7 separate regions of the Homo sapiens genome follow, and all the other regions are linked to region 6. Evidence: promoter capture Hi-C in 16 types of primary human blood cells and fetal thymus (Javierre and others, 2016). All regions are on one chromosome and are shown on one strand. Each heading gives the region's core, a stretch centred on a gene start or on the middle of the fragment in contact. The rest is flanking DNA. Distances are from core to core; before and after follow the strand shown.

Region 1 (3,621 bases), core at 477-2,976, 400 kb before region 6:
TTCATTCTTCTACATGGTGCTTGCCAATTATCCCAGCACCAGTTGTTGAGTAGGGTGTCCTTTCCCCACTTTATGTTTTTGTTTGCTTTGTCAAAGATACCCAAAGTATCAAAAGCTGAGAGAGGTGGTTGCCACTAGACTAACCTGTGAGAAATGCTCAAGGTAGTCCTATAGAGTAAAATGAAAGGAAACTAGATAGTCACTCAAAGCAAAATAATTAAAAATCTCAATAAAGGTAAATACATGGACAATTATAAAAACTATTATTTTAACAATGGTTTGTAACTCTGCTTTTTGCTATGTACATGACTTAACTAAACAATACATTAAAAAATATTTATCTGAAAGTTAGTATTATTGTATCTTTGGTTTATAACTTTGCAATTTGTTTTCCACATAATTTAAGAGACTAATGCATTTTAAATGATTATTAATTTATTGTTTTGGATACACAGTGTATAAAGATAAAATTTCATGACATCAACAGACAAAAGATTTGAAAATGGAACTGTTAAAGGAGCAGAGATTTGTATGTTATTGAAATTAAGCTGACATAGATTCAAATTAGAGTGTTATAACTTTAGGGCATTAAATGTAATCCCCATGGTAGCCACGTATCTCAGAGATATTGTGGGTTTGATTTCAGACCACTGCAGTAAAGCAAATATCACAATAAAGTGAGTCACACAAATTTTTGGCTTCTCAATGAATATAAAAGTTATGTTAAACTATACTGTAGTTTATTAAGTGTGTAATAGGATTATGTCTTAAAGACAATGTATAGACTTCAATTTTAAAATACATTACTGTTTTAAAAAATGCTAACAATCATCTGAAACTTCAGCGAATCTTTGTGCTAGTAGAACATTTTGCCTCAATGTTGATGGCTGTTACTGAGCAGAGTGGTGGTTGCTGAAGATTGGGTTTGCTGTACCAATTTATTAAAATGAGACAACAATAAAGATTACCACATCAATTGATTTTTTTTTAGAGACAAGGTCTTGCTCTGTCATCCAAGCTGGAGTACAGTGCTGTGATCATAGATCACTATAGCTTTAAAGTTCTGAGCTCAAGAGATCCTCCCACCTCAGCCTCTTAAAAAACTGGGACTACTGGTGTGAGACACCACACCTGGCCAATTTTATTTATTTATTTGTAGAAATGGGGTCTCATTACATCGCCCTGGCTGGTCTTGAACTTCTGGCTATAAGCTATCTTCCTGCCTCCACCTCCCAAAGTGCTGGGATTACAGGTGTGAATCACCTCGTCCAGGCTTAATTGACTCACAAAAGATTTCTCTGTAGCAGGCAATGCTGTTTGATATCACTTGACCTACAATAGAATGTCTTTCAAATTGGAAGTTAATTCTCTCAAACCCTGCCATTTGTTTAACAACTAAGTTTTAGGGAATATTTTAAATCATTTGTTGTTGTTTTAATAATGTTCACAACCTCTTCACTAGGAGGAGATTCTATCTCAAGAAACTACTTTATTTGCTTATCCATAAGAAGCAACTCCTCATTTGTTAAAGTTTGATTATGAGAAGGCAGCAATTCAGTTATATATTCGAACTCCACTTCTAATTCTAGTTTTCTTCCTATTTCCACCACATCTACACCATGAGAATTGAAATAAGCTTCCTCTAAACTCCTGTTAATGCTAATATTGTGACCTTTTCTCATAAATAATGAATGTTCATAATGACATATAGAATGGCAATTTCTTTTCAGAAGGTTTTCAATTTGCCTCACCCAGATCCATCAGAGGAATCATTATCTATGGCAGCTATTACCTTATGAAATGTATTTTTGAATAATAAAGCTTGAAAGTCAAAATCACTTCTTGATAGATGGGCTGAAGAATGAATATTGTGTTAACAGGCATGAAAACATTATTCTCCTACCATGACTACACCAGAACTCTTGGGTGACTAGGTGCATTGTCAATATTTTGAAAGATATCTTTTTTTTTTTCCTGAGCAGTAGATCTTAAGACAGACTTACCATATTCAGCAAACCATGGTTTAAACAGATGTGTTGTAATTCAGGCTTTGTTCTTCCATTTATAGAGCATAGGCAGAGTAGATTTAGCATAATTCTTAAGGGTGTTAGAATTTTCAAAGTGGTAAATAACCATTGGCTTCAACTTAAAGTCAACAGCTGCATTCATCCCCTAGCAAGAGAGTCAGTTGTCCCTTGAAGCTTTGAAGCCAAGCATTGGCTTCTCCTCTGTAGCTATGGAAGTCCTAGACAGCACTGTCTTCCAATGGAAGGCTATTTTTAAAATATGTTGTTTAATGTAGCCATCTTCATCAATTATCTTAGCTATATTTTCTGGATCATTTGCTCTAATTTTTGCATCAGCACTCCTGAATTACCGTGAACTTTTATGTTATGGAGACAATTTATTTCCTTAAATTTTATAAACGAAATTCTGCTAGCTTAATATCTTCTTCTGCAGTCTCTTCACCTCTCTTAGCCTTCATAGAATTAAACAGACTTAGGGTCTTGCTCTTAATTAGGCTGTAGCTTAAAGGAATGTTGTGACTGGTTTGCTCTCCTATACTGACTTCTAAAAGTTTCTTCATATCGGTAATAAGGCATTTTCACTTTCTTATTTGTGTGTTAACTGATGTAGCAAATTTAATTTCCCTCAAGAATTTTTTTCTTTGCATGCACATCTTGGCTAACCATTTGGCACAAGAGGCCTAGATTTTGGCCTATCTCAGCTTTTGACCAGGCTTCCTCACTAAGCTTAATTATTTCTAGATTTTGATTTAAAGTGAAACACACTCAACTCTTTCACTTAAACACGTAAAGTTGACTGTAGGGTTACTAATTCATCAATTTTCAATATTGTTATGTCTTAGTGAATAGGGAAGCCTGAGGAGAAGCAGAAAGATGGGAAAATGGCCAGTCAGTGGAGCAGTCAGAACACACACAACATTTATCAATTAAGTTTGCTGTCTTATATAGGTTCAAACAAAACAATTATAATAGTAACATCAAAGATCACTTATCAAAGATCACCATAGCAGATATAATAATAATGAAAAAGTTTAAAATATTGTCAGAATTACCCAAATGTGATACAGAGACATGAAGTGAGCACACACTGTTGAAAAAGATGGTGCTAATAGCCTTGCTCAATACAAGATTCACAAACTTTCAATTTATAAAAAACACAATATCTGTGAAGTGCCATAAAGCAAAGTGCAGTAAAATAAATTATGCCTGTAGTATAGAATATATACACAAATAAATGAGAAAAGAGTTTAATCATTTCACTATAAAAAATTATCTAAACACAAAAGAAGACTGCAGTGCAGGAAATGAGGAACAAAAAGCCTATAAGGCATATAGTAAACAAATAAGAAATGACAGGAGTAAGTTCCTCTTTATCAGCAATTACTTTAAATGTAAATGAATTAAACTTCCTAATCAAAAGATCAGATTGGTAGAATGGATTAAGAAAATATGCTCCAATTGTATGCTGTCTACAAAACACTCTCTTTAGATCCAAAGGCAAATATACATTAAAAATAAAATGAGAGAAAAAATATTTTATGCAAATAGTAACCAGAAGAGAGCAAATATGGTTGTACTAATTTCAGATGAAATA
Region 2 (3,493 bases), core at 430-2,929, 420 kb before region 6:
TCTGTATAGGTGAACTGAGTCTTGTAGGCAGGATATAGTCAGGTCTTCCTTATTTATCCTTTCAGCCACTCTATGTCTTTAACTGGAGAATTTAATCCATTTACATTCAATGTAATTATGATAGGTAAAGCCTTGCTACTGCCATTTTGTTACTTCTTTACCAGTTGTGGTGTAACTCCTCTCTTCTTTTCTAACTGTCTTTCTTTATATTGAAGTTATTTTCTCTGGTAGAGTATTTTAATTTATAGCTTTTTTAGTGTATCTATTATATGCTTTTGCTTTGTGATTAACATGAAGCTTACACAAACATCCTATAGTTATAACACACAATTAAAAACTTATTTAAACTTAGCTTTAATCACAAGAAAATAACAGTAACAAAGCAAAAACAAAATAAAAAAAAATGTGTACAGACTACCTTCTCCCCCACATATTTTGAATTTCTGATGTCACAATTTAAAATTTTTATATTGCCTATACCTTAAATTGCTGTAGCTATTGTTCTTAATTTGTCTTATTTTCTCTTTCAGTCTTCTTAGTAAAGATAGAAGTGGGTCAAACACCACAATCACAATATTAATATTAACAATCGTGTTAGCATTCTTTCCTTTGGGTTTGAAGAACTTTCTTCAGCAGAGTGCTCATTTTTCTCAAATGAACATGGAAAATTCTTTAGAATAGATCATATGTTAAATCACAAAACAAACCTTAACAAATTTGAAAAAAATGGAAACATATCAAGTATTTTTTAATACCACAATGGAATGAAATTAGAAATCAATAACAGCAATAAAATGGAAAAATTTTATATTACATGGAAATTAAACAACACACTATAACTATTGGGTCAAAGAGAAAATCAAAAAGGAATCTAAAAAATATGTTGAAACAAATGAAAACAAAATTAAAACATGCCAACACTATAGGATGCAACAAAAGCAGTCCTAAAAGTTTATGATCATAAATGCCTACATTTAAAGAAAGACAGATCTCAGATGCAGAAACCTAACTATACACCTCAAGGGACAAGAAAAAAGAAGAACAAACTACACCCAAAGTTAACAGAAAAATAAAATAATAAAGATTAGAGCAGAAATAGAGAATCGAAAAACAACAGAAAAATTAACAAACCTAAAAGTTCTTTCTATAAAAAAGATAAATTAAATGGACAACCCTTAGCTAGAATAAAAGAGAAAATAAGAGACAGAAGACTCATATAAATTTAGAAGTGAAGAAAGAGACATTACAACAGATGCCTAAGAAATAAAAAAGATCATAGAGATTTCTATGAACAATTAAAAGGCAACAAATTATATTTGTATAGCCTGGAAGAAATGGATAAATTTCTAGAATTATGCAGCCTACCAAAACTAATCAAGAAGAAATAGAAAACTTGAACAGATGAAAATAATCAGTAGATTGACTCAGTATTAGAATCCTTCCAACAAAGAAAAGCCCAGGACCAGATGGCTTTATGAATGAATCCTAGCAAACAGTCAAAGAAAATTTAATATAAGTCCTTCTTAAACGCTTCTAAAAAATAGAAGAGAAAACAGTTCTATACTCATTTGATAAGGCCAAAGCCAAAGACACCACAAGAAAAGAAAACTGCAAGTCAAAATCTCCCATGAATATAGATGAAAAATCCTGAATAAAATACCAGCTATCTAAATCCAATAGTACACCACAAAGATTATACGCCATGGCCAAATGGGATTTATCTCTGGAATGCAGGGTGAAATCAACATAAGCAAATTAATCATTATGATACATCACATTAACGGAATGAAAATAAATCACATGATAATCTCAATAGATGTAGAAAAAAGCATTTTACAAAGTTTGACATTCATTCATGATAACAACTCTCAGTAAAATATGTAAAGAAAGAAGTAACATAAACATGATAAAGGCTATTTATGAAAAACCCACAGATAATATCATAATCAATAGGGAAAAACAACTTTTTCTCTAAAATCCAATATAAGGCAAGAATGCTCACCCTTGCCACTCTATTCAACATAGTACTGGAAGTCCTAGAAAGACAAATAGAAAAGAGAGAGAAAGAAAAGGCATTGAAATTAGAAAGGGAAAAGTAAAATTATCTCCGTTTGCAGATGACATGATCCTCTATGTAGAAAACCCTAAAAACTCCATGAAAGAAAAAAAAACTGTTAGAATAAATAAATTCACTAAAGGTACAGGATACACATTCAGTGTACAAAGATCAATAGCATTACTTTGCATCAAAAATAAACTATACACGAAGAAAATTTTTAAAAATCTCATTTACAATAACATAAAAAAGAATAAATTACTTAAGAACAAATTTAACCAGGGAGGTGAAAGATTTGTATACTGAAAACCAAAAAATATTGATGAAAGAAATTAAAGAAGAAACCAATAAATGGAAAGATATCCCGTGTTCATGGATTGGAAGAATTTATATTATTAAAATGTCTATAATACCTAAAGTGATTTATAGATTGAATGTAATCTATATTTATTAGAATTTCAATTGTATTTTTTACAGAAATAAAAGGAAAAATTCTAAAAATTTGTATGGAACCACAAAAGATCCCAAATAGCCAAAGTAATCTTGAGAAACAAGAGAAAAGCTGAAGGCATCACACATCCTGATTTAAATATATTGCAAAGCTGTAGTAATCATACAGTATAATACTGGCATAAAAACAGCAACATAGACCAATGGAACAGAATGAAGAGCCCAGAAATAAAACCACATGTACAAAATTAACCAATCTTCAATAAAGGCACCAAGGACATAACATGGGGAAAAGATAATCTCTTGTTGTGTTGGTAAAATGTGATATCCACATGCAGAAGAAAAGAAAACTACAGGTTATTATTTTACAGCATACACAAAAATTAATTCAGAACAGATTGAAGACTTAAACCTAAGACCTGAAATCATAAAAATTCCTAAAAGAAAACATAGGAAAAAGATGCTTAACAGTCTTGGCAATGATTTTTTTTTCATATAACACAAAAAGCACAGGTAACAAAAGCAAAAATAAATAAGTGGGACTACAACAAACTAAAAAGCTTCTGTTTAGGAAAAAAAAAAAGAATGTTGTGTCTGTACTGAACATGCACAGACTTTTTTTCTTGTCATTATTCTCTAAGCAATACAGTACAACACTCATTTACATAACACTTACATTTGATTAGATGTTATAAGTAATCTAGAGATGATTTAAAGTAAATGGGAGGATGTGCATAGGTTGCATGCAAAGATTATGCCATTTGATATAACGGACTTGAGCATCCTCAGATTTTACTAGCCGTAGTGCATCTTGGAACAAATCTACGTGGATACTGAAGGACCACTGTATACCTTACTTTGTTTCTTACAACCAAATAAATTTCAGATGAATCAATATTGAAGCATACGAAGTATATGGGACAGCATGGTGCTTTTTAAAAATAATCTTGGAGTTAGGAAGTCCCTTTTAAGCACTAATCAAAACGC
Region 3 (3,316 bases), core at 95-2,594, 490 kb before region 6:
ATGAGATACCATCTCACACCAGTTAGAATGGCAACCATTAAAAAGTCAGGAAACAACAGGTGCTGGAGAGGATGTGGAGAAATAGGAACACTTTTACACTGTTGGTAGGATGGTAAACTAGTTCAACCCTTGTGGAAGTCAGTGTGGCCATTCCTCAGGGATCTAGAACTAGAAATACCATTTGACCCAGCCATCCCATTACTGGGTATATACGCAAAGGACTATAAATCATGCTGCTATAAAGACACATGCACACGTATGTTTATTGCGGCACTATTCACAATAGCAAAGACTTGGAACCTTCTCTTAATTTCTACAATTCTCCAAAGTCTTTCTTTTTATGGGGACTTTCAACTTCCCACTGCTTGAAAATTCTTGTTCCAGCCTTTGTCTTGTTTCATCCTATCTCGTACTTTAAGTCTCTACTTAAAAGTCATTTTTCATCAAATGGCCTTTCTTAACCCTATTTAAAACAGATTGTCCTTGTACGTCTATGGAGCAACATTATTTACTTTTTACAAACGTTAGTCACAAGCTGTCACTGTTCTGTTTACTTATTTATTTTCTGTTTTCTCCAATAGAAAGTCTTCTCCCCAAGGGAAAAGATCTTGTCTGCTTATTATCTCTCTTGTATCACCAGCAAATGACAGAGTGCTTGGAATATAAATACTTGTTGAACAAAGAAATGAAAATATATGATGAAGAATGTTCCTATGCTGAAACTAAATTTTTGTGTTAGTTTTAGTGACAGAAAGATCAAGTAACAGGTCTGTATCCATATTTAAGCCATTTCTTTATTTGTCCATAATAATTCAAGCTCAGAGATTGCCTGTTTGGAAAAGTATATTATAAAAAACACTATTAATAAACTTCAAGACATAGTTTGCTCATTCTGAAAAATTAGAAAATATAATTAGCCAAAATTCTACCAGCAAACTATGATCAAATGCTAACTTTAATGAGATAGCCCTTGATAATTCTGAAGTTATCTTTTTTCTCTTAAAGATAAATTGGCATCATGAGATTATTGAAATATATGGTTGATTAGTATAAATTCAATTTAGGAATTGAGAATACAAAAAATTATTTATTTTACATTCTCTGCTATAGACTTCTAATTAACTCTTGCCCCTTGGGTCATGCAGAGAAGATTTTCTTCATATATCTTTCTGCAACGTGACTGTGCTATTACCTATGATAAAGAGGGTTGTTCTGTGTTTGGCAGCCTATTCTAGGGTGGGCCTTGTGTCAGTTCCTTTTTTTGTCCACCTGTCTCTGAACAACATAAAACCCTCATTCATAGGTGCAGCATGACTTAATTTGTCGGTCACTAGATGCAGTTGTAAATTGCAAACAAAAAAATGGAAATGCAGATGTTGAAATAAAGATGCAATTTTTGGTTATGAAATGGTCATCTGAATGATCCATATTTATATTCATTTATTTATTATCAATGAAAAACGTACAAATTTTCTAATTAAAAAACTTACAAATTCCTAATTATAATAAACACTATTCTACGGGAATGGCCACCAAAATGTCCCAAATTTTATGTCACTGAATCTATTTCTAATATTCGGTCTAATAGTCTAATCACAGACACTCAATATTCATTTGTTTTCTTGAACCTCTATGATAATCTGCAAGTGTTTCCCGTTTTGGAAGAGACAAAGGAAAAAGCTGTGATGAATATCACTGGAAACTGCGGATCAGGGCCCCTATTCCATGTTTCTCTGGCCCTTTTTTCTTCTTCAGAATTTAGCAGTGGTTTTCAATCCTATCAGATCACATTTGATAGCATGCATTTATTCCTGTGTTTGTAAGGCATAAACCTGTAACCACACTACAAATAGTGAGAATATTGCTGTGAAACTGCATACTCTATGCACTCCCAACAATCAATAATAGAAAATAAGTGGTGCTCAATGATGCTAGAGAAAAGAATAAATTATATTTCTAGTTTGTCTATAAAAATGATATTACAATATCTCTGTCTGAGGAAGAGGAGATCAAATAACATGTAATAACAATATTTTGAAAAGGAAGAGGATAGTGGAATATCTGTTTACTTTCTGATGAATTTTATAATGTTTATGTCATTTGTCAGCTGGTATATTTTTAACCTTTTGTGATTAACTTTCTTGTCCTAAATAGTAATTTTAATATCTAATATTGTATTCAAAAATTTCTACTGGATTTTTTAAGGAAGCCCCCTTAAACTGTTTAAGTTTCAGGGCCTCAAACTGGATCTACCTCTGCTACTTACACACACATATATTTTTTAATCAGTAAAATTCCCAGTTTTAATATAAAGAAGAAATAAAGGGAAATAACATTATAATAGGAAAATATGTCCTTCATGAATATGAGTGCTACAAAAACAGACTGATATGAGAATAAGGTATTGGTGACACAAATATCATGAACAGTGTAGCTACAGGTGATCTGATTTTCTGAAACAGTGAAAAATTCAAGGATGTTTTTCCAGTAAAAGCCAAGGATAATCTTTCCTCAATATACATGGTAGTTTCTTTTCTGTAAAATACAGTATGTATGAGAAATGCAAAAGATGCTTTTGTGTTTTTCACAGTCGTGTTTAAGGCTCAGATAATTATAAAATATCTGGCTGCACATTGAAAAGATGTGCAGAATCAGGCCAATTATTTAGTATGCAAGGCTGCCTTCAGTATTGCAGGGCATTTGTTTGCCTGCTAATGCTACAAATGTCTCCTGTATACTCATCATTGAAACAAGCAACCCTCAATACACATACATACATTCTCATGCATAAACTTACATTTCCTAAAGGCCTTTTGTAGGTGGTAACACAGAGTATGATGAGAAAGTTTCAGAATGCGTCCTGCCCCTCCCACTGTTCCCATCCTCACTCATACCCTCTTTCACGCACTAGAAACACACGGGTCACAGAACTGTTTAGCCAGAGTCCTGAAAAATTAGGTCTTCAAAAGTTGCCTATTAAAATGCAAATGTCCTGGTCTGGGCTAAGATCTCTCATCCTTGTCTGTTAACGGCCTAAAAGGATTCCTTTAAGAGATTTCTCTTTCCGTTTTGAAACTGTGTAATTCTGTAAGGAAGCATAAAATAAACCTGGCCTACACTACATTCGGCTTGAGGGCTGACTCTGCACAATGGGGATTTCTCTGTCTCGTACCACACCTGAAAATGATCTTCAAACTTCCTAACGCCACTTCTGCAGACATGCGTGTGTTGGAGGTGTGGGTGTGGTTATGTGTGTGATGATGTCTGTCTCATTGACATGATTACTGCTGTGTGATCCTGGCTGCATCCTGTGAGA
Region 4 (3,348 bases), core at 341-2,840, 380 kb before region 6:
GGGTAAGAAATCCCTCTTAGAATCTCCTGACCCAAATCCCATTTCTTCCCCATCTTCCACTCAGGCATTCTTCTTTCTGATGCTTCTTTTAACAGGCCAAGAAATGCTCAAAGACAATAGAGGTCTGTGACCTTCTTATTAGTTTTGTTTGCTCACAACTCCCAAGAAGTGATGCTTCCTCATCCCCACTTCAAGTTTTTTGCATTTTGTTTTTCTTTTCTTTTTTTTTATTCTAAAACTGAGTGTGGTCAGTGTAAAGAGTGGGAGCATTAGTAAATACAGCTCATAGCAAGCAATACACTTAAACACTAGTCTAAGTGTGCTCAAAGAGTAGTGGGAAGATCTCTTCCAGGGGGTCTATGAGATCAAACTGTTTTCATGATAATACTGATATTATTTACCTTTTTCATTCATTCTCTCATGAGACAGGAGTTTTCCAGAGGCTACATAATATGTGATATGGCAACAGATTGGATATAGAAGCGCACATAATAATCCAGCTGTCTTCTATTAAACCAGACATTAAAGAGAATTGCAAAAATGTAAAGTAGTGCCACTCTTCTAAATATTTTGTTGTTTTGGTTATTTTTCATAAAAATGTTATTTATGTTAACACATAATAGGTTCATTGTTATTTTCAAATAAATTAACAGTTTTAAAATTATCCATTTTAATTTCTACTACAGTAAAATAACATGGACAAAAGTTCATAGGGTCCCCAATAATTTTTAAGAGTTGAAAGAGTTCCCATGATCAAAATGTTGGTAGCCTTGAAGGTCTCCAACCTACTAAGAGCCAGCCGTGGCAGAGTAGCACAAACAGGTAATAAAGCCCTCAATAGACATCGCTTGGAAAACTGAGGGAATAAAATGATTAATATACTAGATTGTGGAGAATAATAGTTTAAATTAGATAATGTGTATAAAATTTCTAGCAAAGCTCTTAATGCATAGACAATAATTAATGCATAAGTGCTTTCTTCTCTGACTTTGGAATAAGAACCACCAGGCTCAGGGAGAGAGGTGGAAAAAGATGGCAGAATAGGAAGCTGCACCAATCATCCCCATAGCAAGGACAGCAAGTTAACAACTACCTTCACAGGAAAACAACACCAAAAATAAGGTGAGCACTCATAACACCTGGTTTCAACTTCATATTGCTGAAAAAAGCACTGAAGAGATAGAAAAACAGCCCTGAATCACGTATGCCACCCCTCCCCAACCCTCGCAAGCATCTCTACGTGCTGGAGGAAGAACACAATTGTGAGGCATTGGACTCAGTGCTGTTCTGTTAGAGCAGAAGGGAAAACCAACAAACTCAGCTGACACCCATACACAGAGGGAGCATTTAAACTAGCCCTAGCCAGTAGGGAATTGCCAGTCCCAGTAGTCCGAACTATGAGTGCCTGCAAACCTCACCACCAAGGGCCAAAGTGCTCTCAGTCACTAAGTAAACTTGAAAGGCAGTCTAGATCATAAGGACTGCAACATTTAGGTGAGTCCCAGGGCTGAACTAGGCCCAGAGATAGTGGACTTGTTGTGAGGGTTGGGCATGGAATAGACTGAGAGACTAGCTAAGGAAGCCAAAGGAGTGCTGGCATCATCCCTCCCCTAACCCAAGGCTGCACAGTTCATGGCTCCAAAAGACACTCCTTTCTTCCACTTAAGGAGAAGGGAGGAAAGAGTGAGGAGGACTTTGTCTCGCTTCTTGGACACCAGCTCAGCCACGGCAGGTTAGGGCACCAGTCAGTCAGGAGGCCCCTGTTTCAGACCCTAGCCCCCAGCCAACATTTCTAGACACACCCTGGTCCAGAAGGGAACCTGTTGCCTTAACGAAAAGGACCCTGTCCTGCCAGCATCCATTGACTGCTAAATAAAGAGCCCTTGGGCCCTGAATAACCAGCAGTGATACCCACGTACTACACTGAGGGCCTTAGAGAGCCTCTGAGACTTGCTGGCTTGAGGTAAAACTCAGCATGTTACTAGCTGTGGTGGCTATGGGGCAAAACTCATTCTGCTTGAGAAAAGCAGAGGGAAAAGTAAAGGGGACTTTTTCTTGCACCTTAGGTAAGAACACTGCCACAAAGGGTAAAGCACCAAGTGGAATCTTGGGGGTCCTTGATTCCAGAACTGGACTTTTGGATGGCATTTCTGGACCTGCCCTGGGCCAGAGGGGAGCCCACTACCCTGAAGGGTGAGTCCCAGGCTAGACAACATTCACCACAAGCTAACTTAAGAGATCTTAGGCCTTAAAGGAATATTGATGGTAGTCTGGCAGTACTCCTCATGGCCATGGGCGGTGGGGGCTATGGGGGTGAGATTCTTCTGCCTTTGGAAAAAGAAAGGAAGAGTGGGAAGAACTATGTCTTGTGGTTTCCGTGCCAGCTCAGCTGCAATATAATAGAATACCAGATAGTCTCCTAAGGTTTTTGACTCTAGTCCCTGACTCCTGGATGGCACTTCTGGACCCACCTGGGGCTTGAGGGACCTTGCCACCCTAAAGCAAAGGACACAGGCCTGGCTGTCTTTGCTGCCTGGTGATTATAGAGCCCCAGGGCCTTGAGTGAACATAGGCAGTAGCCAGGGACTGGCTACAGCAGGCCTTGGGCAAGCCCCAGCACTATCCTGGCTTCAAGTCTGTGCAGTCATAGTGATGGTGGCCACAGGAGTGCTTGTGTCACTACACCCCCAGCTGTAGGTGGCTCAGAAAAGAGAAAGAGACTCTGTATGTTTGGGAGAAAGTAAGGGAAGAGAATAAGAATCTCTGCCTGGTAATACAGAGAATTCTGGTAATCTTACCCAAGACCATCAAGGCAATACCATAGCAACAGTCTGCAAGAACGGCAGCATTATTGGGCTTAGGGTGACCCCTAAAGCAGAAACAGCTTAAATCACAACACCCAAGTCCTTTCAAATATCTGGAAAGCCTTCTCAAGGATGGCTGCAAATAAGCCAAGACAGTGAAGATTACAATACATACATTACTCTTTGATTCCCAGACACTGAAGAATATCTACTAGCATCAACCATCAACATTGTCCAGGAAAACATGACCTTACCAAATTAACTAAATAAGGCACTAGGGACCAATCCTGAAAAAACAGAGATATGTGACCTTTCAGAAAGGGAATTCAAAATAGATGTGTTGAGGAAACTCAAGGAAATTCAAGATAATACAGGGAAGGAATTCAGAATTCAATCAGATATATTTAACAAAGAGATTGAAATAATTTTAAGAAATCAAGCAGAAATTCCAGTGCTGAAAAATGCAATTGGTATACTGAGGAATGCATAAGAGTCCTTCAATAGCAGAATGGATCAAGAAGAAGAGAGAATTAGTGAGCTTGAA
Region 5 (3,440 bases), core at 213-2,712, 460 kb before region 6:
CAGAACTGGAATAAGTGACTCCTTACCAGGATTCTTTTCACCCTGCCACTATTCATACACAAAATTGAAGGATAGAATTAGTTCTCCTACACCTCTAGAATGATGCTATAGTGACCATACTATATGGATATAGCTACTAAGTCAGTGAATAATTGAGGAGCCAAGATTCTAGAAAGAAAGAATATGCAGAAATGTTAGCTCGAATCTCACTTCTTTGCAGTTTCCTTGAGGAATTGTAATTTGTTGTTTGTAGTCTTTGGTCAAAAAAACTAATAAACTGAGAAGAGTATCTGGAAATTTCCATATGCTTAAGGGTTATATTCTCTGTGAAAGGGTAAAGTGGAAATAAATGAACCCTTCACAGAGACTAAAACTTCAAATTAATTTAATTTCTAGTTAGATTAATATGATCTTGCCCCTAGTCTAATTACCTGTCGAGAAGCAAAATAAAATATTCTCTAGAGGAAGATAATATAATCTAGAGTACCAATTTGTCTTTATATTTTTTTTCATATAGTACTGGAGTAGGAAAACTACAGCCCATCAGCCCACTACATGTTTTTGCATAGCCTGCAAGGGGTATACTAGTTTTTACAATTTTAAATAATTGAAAACAAATTTAAAAAATACTTTGTGACATGTGAAAGCTATGTAAAATTCAAATATAGTAAGCACACACAAAAACCCCAAAATTTTTTGAACCACAACCCCACTCATTCACTTATGTATAATCTATGGCTTCTTTTGTGCTACTATAGCAGAATTTAATAGTTGGAACAGGGACTTATGTATGATCCACAAACCCTAAATTATTAATTACTTGGCCCTTTTCAGGAAAGTGTGAGGATTTCTGATAGAGAGTGTCCAAGATGTAATAAAAATGCACCAGACATACCAGGATAAAAAACCAAAGATCTAAGACTCAACAAATTAAAAAAAAAAACTCAATACAAACAAACCCATAAAATAATCATATTAAAGTTACAAAATACAAATTTAAGATAAATATGACTGTGGCAGACACATTCTAAGGTGACCCATAATGAGTCACACCCATGTATTCCCTTCATTTGAGTGTGGACAGAACTGTGACTTGCCTCTGTTCAATAGAATATGCCAAAGACAATGATATGTCTCACTCCCATGCTTATATAACATTATATAAGAATTTATCATAACAGAATGGAGCAAGAATACTAACTTGCTGACTTTAAAGAATTAAGTGGCCATGTTTTAAGATAACTTGTAACAGGGTGGTGTAGCAAGGAATATATGCAACTTCTAAGAACTAACAGTTTCAGCTGAAAGCCAATTCTGCCAACAACTACATGAGTTTGGAAGTGGATGCCAAACTCCATGAAGGAATACAGCTCTGCTGATGCTGATTGCAGGTGTGTGAGATCCTGAGCAGAGAACCCAGCTAAGCCATGCCTAGAACACCTGTCCAATGGAAATTTTGTGGCATTTTAAGCTACTAAACATGCTAATTTGTTATGCAGCAATAAAAACTACTATAATGATTATTATGCTGAAAAAATAATGTAAGACAAATTTTCAAATCACAGCAGAGAATGAGAAATATTATTTAAAAATAAAGTGAAAACACTAGAAGTATAAAATATAATAAGAGAAACTAAGAACTTAATAGATGTTATAACACCACATTAGAAATAACTGGAGATAAAATCAGTGAATTGGAAGATGTGTCAGTAAAAAATACCTAGATTGAAGCACAGGGAAAAAAAAGTAGTGCAATATGTATAAAAGAGCGTAAGAAGCATATAGAACCCCAGGAAAAGGTCTAGCATATGTGTAATTAGACTACCAGATTAATAGGAGAGATAGAATGTATCAGAAGCAATATACGAAGAAACAGTGGCCATGAATTTTTCAAACTTGAGGAAATCATTAAGACACAAATTCAAGAATCATCCTGAGTTGCCTACCAACAGGATAAATACATATTCAATGATACATAAAATTCATGTAGGCATATCAAATAAAACAACAGAAAAAAGAAAGATAGAAAGAAAAAGCCTTAAAAGGAGTTAGAGTAAAAGGACACGTTATTTTCAAGGACTAACTGTAAGGCTAATAATTGACCCATTAACAGCAGGAAAACAGAAATTAATGGAATGACATTTTTAACATACTGAAAGAAAACAACTACCAAGCTAGAATTCTATAATCAGGGAAAATATCCTTTCAAAAGGGAGACAAAAACAATAAGAGTTTTAGATATGCAAAAAAAAAAAAAAAAAAAAAGAGAGAGAGAGAGAATTTGTCACCAGCAAACCTGAATTAAAAGAAACATGAAGTTCACGAAAATCCACTGTTCTGCAGCCACTGCTGCTGATACCCAGGCAAACAGGGTCTGGAGTGGACCTCTAGCAAACTCCAACAGACCTGCAGCTGAGGGTTCTATCTGTTAGAAGGAAAACTAACAAACAGAAAGGACATCCACACCAAAAACCATCTGTATGGCACCATCATCAAAGATCAAAAGTAGATAAAACCACAAAGATGGGGAAAAAACAGAGCGGAAAAACTGGAAACTCTAAAAAGCAGAGCGCCTCTCCTCCTCCAAAGGAAAGCAGTTCCTCACCAGCAACGGAACAAAGCTGGACGGAGAATGACTTTGACGAGTTGAGAGAAGAAGGCTTCAGACAATCAAACTGCTCCGAGCTACAGGAGGAAATTCAAACCAATGGCAAAGAAGTTAAAAACTTTGAAAAAAAATTTAGACAAATATATAGCTAGAATAACCAATGTAGAGAAGTGCTTAAAGGAGCTGATGGAGCTGAAAGCCAAGGCTTGAGAACTATGTGAAGAATGCAGAAACCTCAGGAGCTGATGCGATCAACTGGAAGAAAGGATATCAGTGATAGAAGATGAAATGAATGAAATGAAGCGAGAAGGGAAGTTTAGAGAAAAAAGAATAAAAAGAAATGAACAGAGCCTCCAAGAAATATGGGACTATGTGAAAAGACCGAATCTACATCTGATTGGTGTACCTGAAAGTGACAGGGAGAATGGAACCAAGTTGGAAAACACTCTGCAGGATATTATCCAGGAGACCTTCCCCAATTTAGCAAGGCAGGCCAACATTCAGATTCAGGAAATACAGAGAACACCACAAAGATACTCCTCGAGAAGAGCAACTCCAAGACACATAAGTGTCAGATTCACCAAAGTTGAAATGAAGGAAAAAATGTTAAGGGCAGCCAGAGAGAAAGGTCGGGTTACCCACAAAGGGAAGCCCATCAGACTAATAGCAGATCTCTCAGCAGAAACTCTACAAGCCAGAAGAGAGTGGGGGCCAATATTCAACATTCTTAAAGAAAAGAATTTTCAACCCAGAATTTCATATCCAGCCAAACTCAGCTTCACAAGTGAAGGAGAAATAAAATCCTTTATAGACAAGCAAATGCTGAGAGATT
Region 6 (3,443 bases), core at 602-3,101:
GGAGGCAAAGAAGGAGCACATAGGAGGGTAGGGAGTGAAGTGGAAACTTCCCTGGTGAGTAGGGGAAGCAAAGAAAGGAGAACAAGGCAAAGGGACTAAGAAAAGATTAACTTACAAGAACAAATGCTAGAGTCTTGTCTCCAGAGGTAGTGCAACCAGAAATCCTGAAGAGCAGTTGAATTGAGAAGAGAAGTGGGAGGTCAGGGGGTTGGGGGAAGAGGTGACTGGTGGCTGAGAGGCCATGGCTGGGAAAGAGAGAAAGGAATAAACTGGGGAGGGCTGGTAACCTTGATAGGAATTTATGTAGGAAATGAGAGTGCAAACAGGAAGGGCTTAATGAGGGCTGTGATTGTCTGGAAGGAGAAAAAGGGGAGATTTGGCACCTCCTGGAACCTGGGGAAAGTAATTGTCTGGGTAAATGGTAAGTGTATTTCCCACAGGGTCAGAGCAGGCTTTGATCTTTAGGAGAAGACAAATTGCTTTCCATCTTGCTGAAGCCAAAGGCTTAAATGGTCAGACGTGTGTCATAGGTGGGTGCAAAGGGAAGGAAATATAATACATCCTCATGGCCAAGTGCCCTGGGCTTGGATCACTGTGTCCTTGGCCAAGTTAACCAACTTCTTTAAGCTTCCAATGATTCATGTACAAAAAAAGATACAAAAATACCTTTCACATGTGGTTCTTCCAGAAAGCGCTTGGCACAGGGCCTGGTACATAAACAAATTCAATAAGGGTTAACTATTTTCATAATTACAGTTAGTCTGCATCGCTAGAAGCACATTATTCAAATGAGGATATGGACTGGTCAGATGACAGTGGAAACGGTGTTCAGATCTAGGGGCCCCCACCTAGTAAGAACAACACTAATCAACTCTAGCCTGCCCAGGGGACAGTGACCCAGAGAACTAGGAAACCTTGAAAAATGAAGAAATATGAAATACTAATAAAAATTAAGAAAACCCACAAGCGTTTAACCCAGATAATATTTGGGGACATGAGGGGGTTATGTGAAGAGAAAACAATGTTCCATTTAACTTTAGGAAATGGCGATATTATTAAAGATTTTGGAGGCATTAGTCATCATCCTTTGGTCAAGTTTATTAACCTCTCCAGTGCCTCTGTTTTTTCATCCATAAAATGGGATTCACTAGATCACCTATCTTATAAGATTACTGTGGCAATTAAATGAGTCAGTATGTGCTAAGTGCTTAGAAGACTATCTAGCACATAATAAATGCTCAATAAGTCCTGAGGAGCAACTGGATTGACAGGAGAAGTTGGTGCTGGTTATTATTATTACTATAATTATTACCCTGGGTAAGTTTTTAATAGTTCCAGCAATGAAAAAATGAGAATAGCCTCCTTGCAGCAGTAATTCCCTCTTACTGGAACAGTTCAAAAAGTCGCTGATAACGACCAGTCAATCATTAGAGAGGAGACTCCTCGTCCTGGGAGAAAGCCGATTTGTCATCTCTTAAACCCCAGGGCATCCAGCGTGAAGGAGGTAGAACTAGGCCGGCCCGCGAGGAGGCAGGGGCAGGCGCCAGTGACGCAATGACTGCAACATGCCGCCAGGGTGCAGCAGAGCCCGACCCCGGGTTGTTCCATCCGCAGCAAACAATTCCTAACTCGCTCCAGGTCTTCCTTCTTAGCTGAGTGGGTTGAACCCCGTGGAAGTAACCCCCCGCCCATTATGATGATCCAGCCAATCACCGCGTGATCTGCTCGGACGGGGCGGGATCGCGGCGCTTCCCTCGGTCGCTCAGAGACTGGGTTCCGCGTTCCAGCCCCGCCCCAGGTTCTGGGCCAATCCCCGCGGCTGGGCAGAGCGACCCGAGGGCGGCGCCCTGCAGACCACGTGGCCCGGGAGGCGCCGAGGCCAGGTAGGTGGTGAGTTACTTGGCTCGGAGCGGGCGAGGGGACGCGTGGGCGGAGCGGGGCTGGCCAGCCTCGGCCCCCATGACCCGCTGTCCTGTGCCCTTTCCCAGCGATGGGCGTGCAGCCCCCCAACTTCTCCTGGGTGCTTCCGGGCCGGCTGGCGGGACTGGCGCTGCCGCGGCTCCCCGCCCACTACCAGTTCCTGTTGGACCTGGGCGTGCGGCACCTGGTGTCCCTGACGGAGCGCGGGCCCCCTCACAGCGACAGCTGCCCCGGCCTCACCCTGCACCGCCTGCGCATCCCCGACTTCTGCCCGCCGGCCCCCGACCAGATCGACCGCTTCGTGCAGATCGTGGACGAGGCCAACGCACGGGGAGAGGTCAGCGGGCGGGGTCAGCGCAGGGAGGGAGGGGCCTGGAAGGTCAGCGGGGGACACGGGCGGAGCTGGGGAGACCGGGCCTGGGATAACTTAACTGGGCTCGGGGAGGCAGACAGTAGGGCCGGGAGACTGGGAAGCCAGTGCGGGGGAGGGAAGCGCTAAACGGAAGGAACTAAAGAGAGGGCGAAGCAGTGCGAACTGGGCTTGAGGAGAGGCAGTGAAAACCAGCTAATACTGTGAGTTGTGAAGGAGAAGGGTGTGGACAGACACCTGGGAGAGGTGGGGGTTGAAGTCAGGTGGAGGCTGTTTACCATTTTCTAGAGTAAAGCTGTCCAAATATAATGGAACCTAAGTGGCTCCATGTAATGTTAATTTTTCTAGCAACGGCATTCTTAAAAAGCAGGGAAGCAGATAAAATTAACTTTGGTGATCTTAATGAGATATTTTCATTCTTTTTTCTACTACCTCTTCATACCCTGTTGCGTTTTTCACACTACATCTCAGTTTGGACTAGCCACATTTCGAGTACAGTAGCCACAGTAGCCGTGGCTACTGTCTTCTGTATTGAACACCACAGGTGGAGGGCTGTGTAGAGGTGGACAGCTCTTGAACCAGCCAGTGCAGAGGCCTCCTAGCCACCTAGTGCAGGGACAGCCCTCCCTGACTTTGCTGCAGAGCCCTGGACCTGGCACAGAAGAAGGAGCTGTGGGGAGAACCAAGTGAGGGGCAGGAAACAGTTGTGGGTGGGGGAGTTGAGTGGCACCCATCGAGCCCCCTCTTCGTAGGCTGTGGGAGTGCACTGTGCTCTGGGCTTTGGCCGCACTGGCACCATGCTGGCCTGTTACCTGGTGAAGGAGCGGGGCTTGGCTGCAGGAGATGCCATTGCTGAAATCCGACGACTACGACCCGGCTCCATCGAGACCTATGAGCAGGAGAAAGCAGTCTTCCAGTTCTACCAGCGAACGAAATAAGGGGCCTTAGTACCCTTCTACCAGGCCCTCACTCCCCTTCCCCATGTTGTCGATGGGGCCAGAGATGAAGGGAAGTGGACTAAAGTATTAAACCCTCTAGCTCCCATTGGCTGAAGACACTGAAGTAGCCCACCCCTGCAGGCAGGTCCTGATTGAAGGGGAGGCTTGTACTGCTTTGTTGAATAAATGAGTTTTACGAACCAGGGCACGTTGCA
Region 7 (3,694 bases), core at 98-2,597, 440 kb before region 6:
CCCTATTTCTAAATGTATTATTTGAAATAGACACATTTGGCAACGTATTACACATCAGCTACTTCAACCCATTTCCTAAGTAATTTATGATACCATCAGTTTTGAGTAGGGCCCAAAACAAGGGAAGGCTCTGAAGTTAGTCAAGAATACAGTGTAAGCAGCTCTACCACTAAAGCCTTACAATTCAGTAGATTCCACGTGTTCAATGAGAGTTTATTTTTTATAGTGACTGATATGTGTGTTTATAATATATATTTGTGGCAATATCACAAGGTCTGTTCCTAAAGGTATATGGCCACCTCTTCATTCAAGGGTTCTAGTCTGAAATTGGGTGAGAGGCTATAATGATTCTCCATGTGGAGAATTAAGTTGGTATTCTGTGAAGCTACAATAGGAGGATTACAATGCAGGCCCTTCAGACTTCTTTAAAAAGCTGCACTTTCTCTAGACAAACATCTTTTAAGAAACGACTCAAATCACTGCTACGGCTGGTAAAGGCAGGTCTCTTGACCATGTATCCTAGGATGCCTATTGTGAGCTGGTTCTATGTGTCCCAACAAGCCAAAATCATCTTCATGTCTACTACCCTAGTTCCAGCTCTCATCATATTTCCATTGGAGAACTGCAGTATCTTCCTAATTAAATTTTCTGCTTCCAAATTTACTTCTCCAATTCATTTTTCTCATTTCAACTAGACTTTTTGAAATGCACATCTGATTGTGCTATTCACGGTTTTAAAAGCTTTGCTGGCTCCACATTGGCCTTACAAAGTGGCACAAGACTCTGTATGATCTCATCCCCTATTACCTTCTAACATCATCTCTTCCTCAGACTGTGTGTACAATTTTGCCTTCTTTCACTTCTCAGAATGAGTTATTATCATTAATCTCTCAAGTCCTTCACTCATGTTTTCTCTCTATCTTAAAATTTCTTTCTTGGTTGACCTATATCTATCTTAAATATTCCTGTTTGAACATCATTCCTCAGAAAAGTATTTAAAGTCTTCCCAGACTAGGACAACCTGCCCTCTCTGTTATATGCTCTCATAATGGCTCAAACCTTTCCTTATAGCATTTATTTTTGTTCATAATAATGTATTTACTTGTGAGATGATTTATTTGAAATATGCCTAGGTGGGAAGGCTATTCACTGGACAAGGACAAGAACACCTAATCAGGGAGAGAATGAGGGGTAAAATCTAGCTCACAGTGCACTTGACAAGCCATACATCCTGTTATAGATCTCCCTCTGTCTATAAGCAGGAGTGCCCTTTTACTAATTGTATAAATACAGTCTCTGCTCACAAAGGAGTGTGTACATTGGCTGCATCTACATGAAGAGTCTCCTTTTGCTAATTTGCACAAAGATAATAATGGATTAGCTATAGTTTTGTATGCCTCCCTCCTTGATAAGCTCTATGTGAGCAAACACCATGACTGTTTTTGTCATGCTTGTGTCCTCAATACTCAGCATAATTCATCGCACTTAAGCTCTCCATTAATATTTATTGGTTTAATAAATAAAGAAATGATCCTCAAACGTATAATAAATAGGCCATTTTATTTTGCAGGTTTCTTCTAGGTTCATTGGTTTGTTAACAAAATAGACTTTACATTCTAAGATGCAAGCTGCTTTGGTGAGTCAATAACCAAAGGCAATGAGTTTTGTTTTACTAATTGCCCAAATTCCTAATCAGATCCCTGGGATAGAGTCATACACTTTGCTTCCCTCCGTGCCCTGGAATGATTCTCAAGGGGAAGTCCCCAGAGTTCTAGAGCAGATGAAGTTGCTTCTCTTTCAGGAGTAAACAGAGTTCCTGGATTTGGGGTTGCAAGAGATTTCAACTCTGCAGGAAGACTTCCCAAGCCAGAGGAGTCAATGCTCTGGACCTTGAATTAGTCACCATACTCGAATCTTCCTTCAGACACTCAGGAAGTGCTGATCATCCAGGCTTGAAGCTTTCAATTTCTCCTACTAGACCTTTTGGAGAGGTTCTAATCTCAGGGTTTTTTTGTTGTTGTTGTTTATTTTATTTATTTATTTTCTTTTCATGTTCAAATACACCAGCTAAAAGGAGAATTTCTCTCATTTCCTCTGCCAAGTTTGCAAAAAGTAAGTGGTTATTGATAGGAAAAAAAGGAGAGGAAACTTGATTTTAAATTTTCTGATATACTTCCTTTTTCTCTTCAGTTTTCTGATTATTTTTGTGATATTAGAATTTCATAATTTCCCTGTATCTTGCATGATGGCTGATTGAGAGCTGATGACTTATAAAGTGAAATATAGTATTCTTACAAGCTTTATGTTTAAATAATAAAATCAGCTGCAGAAAATCTTGGAGGGAAGAGTGAATAAGACAACTTTCATAACTCCCAGAATTGTCATCTGTTCCTGATGTCCCTGGCATCTTTTGAGTCAATAAGGCTGAGATGCAGTTTTCATACAGCTATTGTCTCCTTCTTCTCTTACCTGAACACCTTGCCTGAAAATTCATTCAGTAGGGCATTGATCTGTTGGAAATGCATGGGATTTGGAGTTAGAAATATCTTTGTTTCACACCTGCAACTGCCAATTACTAGATCTGTGAGTCGGACTTAAGTAGCTTATCCCACTGAAGTAGCTTATCCCACTGAGCCTCAAATTCTCCACCTACCAAATGGGAGTATTTTATTTCCTTGCAGAGTAATCACTAGCCTTTAGGCTGGTGTATGTTAACCAAATGTTTGTTTCTGCATTTTATTTTCTAACTCCTCAGCCATTTAGAGTATAAGGGCTACCTTCATTTTTCCATCAGCTTTGAGAGTCTATATGCTCCGTTGACACCCCTTATCTATCATGCACAGTCCTGGTCAGATTACTGTTCCTGCCCCTTTTCAGCAACAATGCATGGGGGCATCAGGATCACTACTTTCAGAAAAATGTACTCAGCATAATGTGTGTGTGTGTGGGGGGGGGGCGGGCGGAGGGGTGTGAGAGAGAGAGAGAAAGAGAGAGAGAGAGAAAAAGAGAGAGAGATAGGTGGATGTGAATTAGACTGAGGCTAAGGATTCTAGACAGATAGATACTAGACTTGCCATAGCAGAGAACAATTAAAAGGAACACCATTTTCCTCTGAGCCTCACCCTCCTATCAGATGATAGTAGCTACGTCAGGAACTATGAGGAAATTAGGTAACAATTACACAGTCCATGTTCCTGCCTCTTCACAGAGACATCAAAAGCAACTCAGAATAAGATACAATGATTCCCTTTTTAAAAAATGTCTTCCTAAAGAAGGTTCATTCACTTCTGTATATCAGTGTTTCATGTATCAGTATCTCAGCTGAGATAAAAATATTTTTTTCTTCCAGTAATGAAATTTTTTTAATAGCAAAGGACTCAGTGTTCAGGGTCAAGAGAGCTGAGTTTCCAAGTTAGCTCTGCCATGAACTAAATGTGTGATATTCCTTTTTCCTTTTTGGAATTCAGTTTTCTCACTTTTCTACCACATAGTTATTTCTGATAGATTTATTATGACTTTGAAGAATAAAGAAAACTGTAAAATGCAAAAAACATTCATATACGTTTTTACCATCTTTTTAGAGAAAAGAGCTATTCACAAAAACTTAATTTAAGAATTGGAAAACTAACTCAGAATAATTATTCATGTCCCTTCTTAATGATAATCGTTTGTCAGCATTTAGTTTATCTCTCCA

The links. Contacts are between HindIII fragments. The CHiCAGO score rates a contact against its expected background, and 5 or more counts as called.
Region 1: a fragment that was not itself captured here is called in contact with the fragment with the promoter of DUSP23 in region 6 in 5 of 17 cell types (M2 macrophages, M0 macrophages, megakaryocytes and 2 more); the score reaches 7.6 in M2 macrophages.
Region 2: a fragment that was not itself captured here is called in contact with the fragment with the promoter of DUSP23 in region 6 in 1 of 17 cell types (M2 macrophages); the score reaches 7.4 in M2 macrophages.
Region 3: a contact is called between a fragment that was not itself captured here and the fragment with the promoter of DUSP23 in region 6, in 4 of 17 cell types (M2 macrophages, megakaryocytes, M1 macrophages and 1 more). The highest score is 11.5, in M2 macrophages.
Region 4: a contact is called between a fragment that was not itself captured here and the fragment with the promoter of DUSP23 in region 6, in 3 of 17 cell types (M2 macrophages, endothelial precursors and megakaryocytes). The highest score is 8.6, in M2 macrophages.
Region 5: a fragment that was not itself captured here is called in contact with the fragment with the promoter of DUSP23 in region 6 in 3 of 17 cell types (M2 macrophages, endothelial precursors and megakaryocytes); the score reaches 10.2 in M2 macrophages.
Region 7: a fragment that was not itself captured here is called in contact with the fragment with the promoter of DUSP23 in region 6 in 6 of 17 cell types (M2 macrophages, M0 macrophages, endothelial precursors and 3 more); the score reaches 10.8 in M2 macrophages.

The regions. Positions count from the first base shown.
Region 1 is chr1:159,376,907-159,380,527 of GRCh38, forward strand. No RefSeq gene overlaps it. Among named protein-coding and RNA genes, the nearest start is that of OR10J1, 61 kb to the right of the region's middle. The HindIII fragment of the contact is 185 bases long and covers 1,635-1,819 here.
Region 2 is chr1:159,356,379-159,359,871 of GRCh38, forward strand. The region is part of intron 1 of LOC124904433 (a long non-coding RNA gene); the gene reads right to left. Among named protein-coding and RNA genes, the nearest start is that of FCER1A, 56 kb to the left of the region's middle. The HindIII fragment of the contact is 2,769 bases long and covers 296-3,064 here.
Region 3 is chr1:159,294,014-159,297,329 of GRCh38, forward strand. It overlaps a transcript of FCER1A not described here. Among named protein-coding and RNA genes, the nearest start is that of FCER1A, 6.7 kb to the right of the region's middle. The HindIII fragment of the contact is 9,514 bases long and covers 1-3,316 here.
Region 4 is chr1:159,395,338-159,398,685 of GRCh38, forward strand. It overlaps a transcript of OR10J1 not described here. Among named protein-coding and RNA genes, the nearest start is that of OR10J1, 43 kb to the right of the region's middle. The HindIII fragment of the contact is 4,279 bases long and covers 1-3,348 here.
Region 5 is chr1:159,321,324-159,324,763 of GRCh38, forward strand. No RefSeq gene overlaps it. Among named protein-coding and RNA genes, the nearest start is that of FCER1A, 21 kb to the left of the region's middle. The HindIII fragment of the contact is 7,617 bases long and covers 1-3,440 here.
Region 6 is chr1:159,779,111-159,782,553 of GRCh38, forward strand. It overlaps DUSP23 (dual specificity phosphatase 23), which reads left to right and starts at 1,852. Exons shown (of 2, transcript NM_001319658.2): 1 at 1,852-2,257; 2 at 3,043-3,433. The coding sequence starts at 1,991. The coding sequence ends at 3,228. LOC101928264 (a long non-coding RNA gene) reads right to left here and starts at 271. Exons shown (of 3, transcript XR_922193.3): 1 at 116-271. RefSeq lists a silencer at 1,787-2,176 and an enhancer at 2,168-2,744. The HindIII fragment of the contact is 4,062 bases long and covers 626-3,443 here.
Region 7 is chr1:159,340,105-159,343,798 of GRCh38, forward strand. No RefSeq gene overlaps it. Among named protein-coding and RNA genes, the nearest start is that of FCER1A, 40 kb to the left of the region's middle. The HindIII fragment of the contact is 1,217 bases long and covers 740-1,956 here.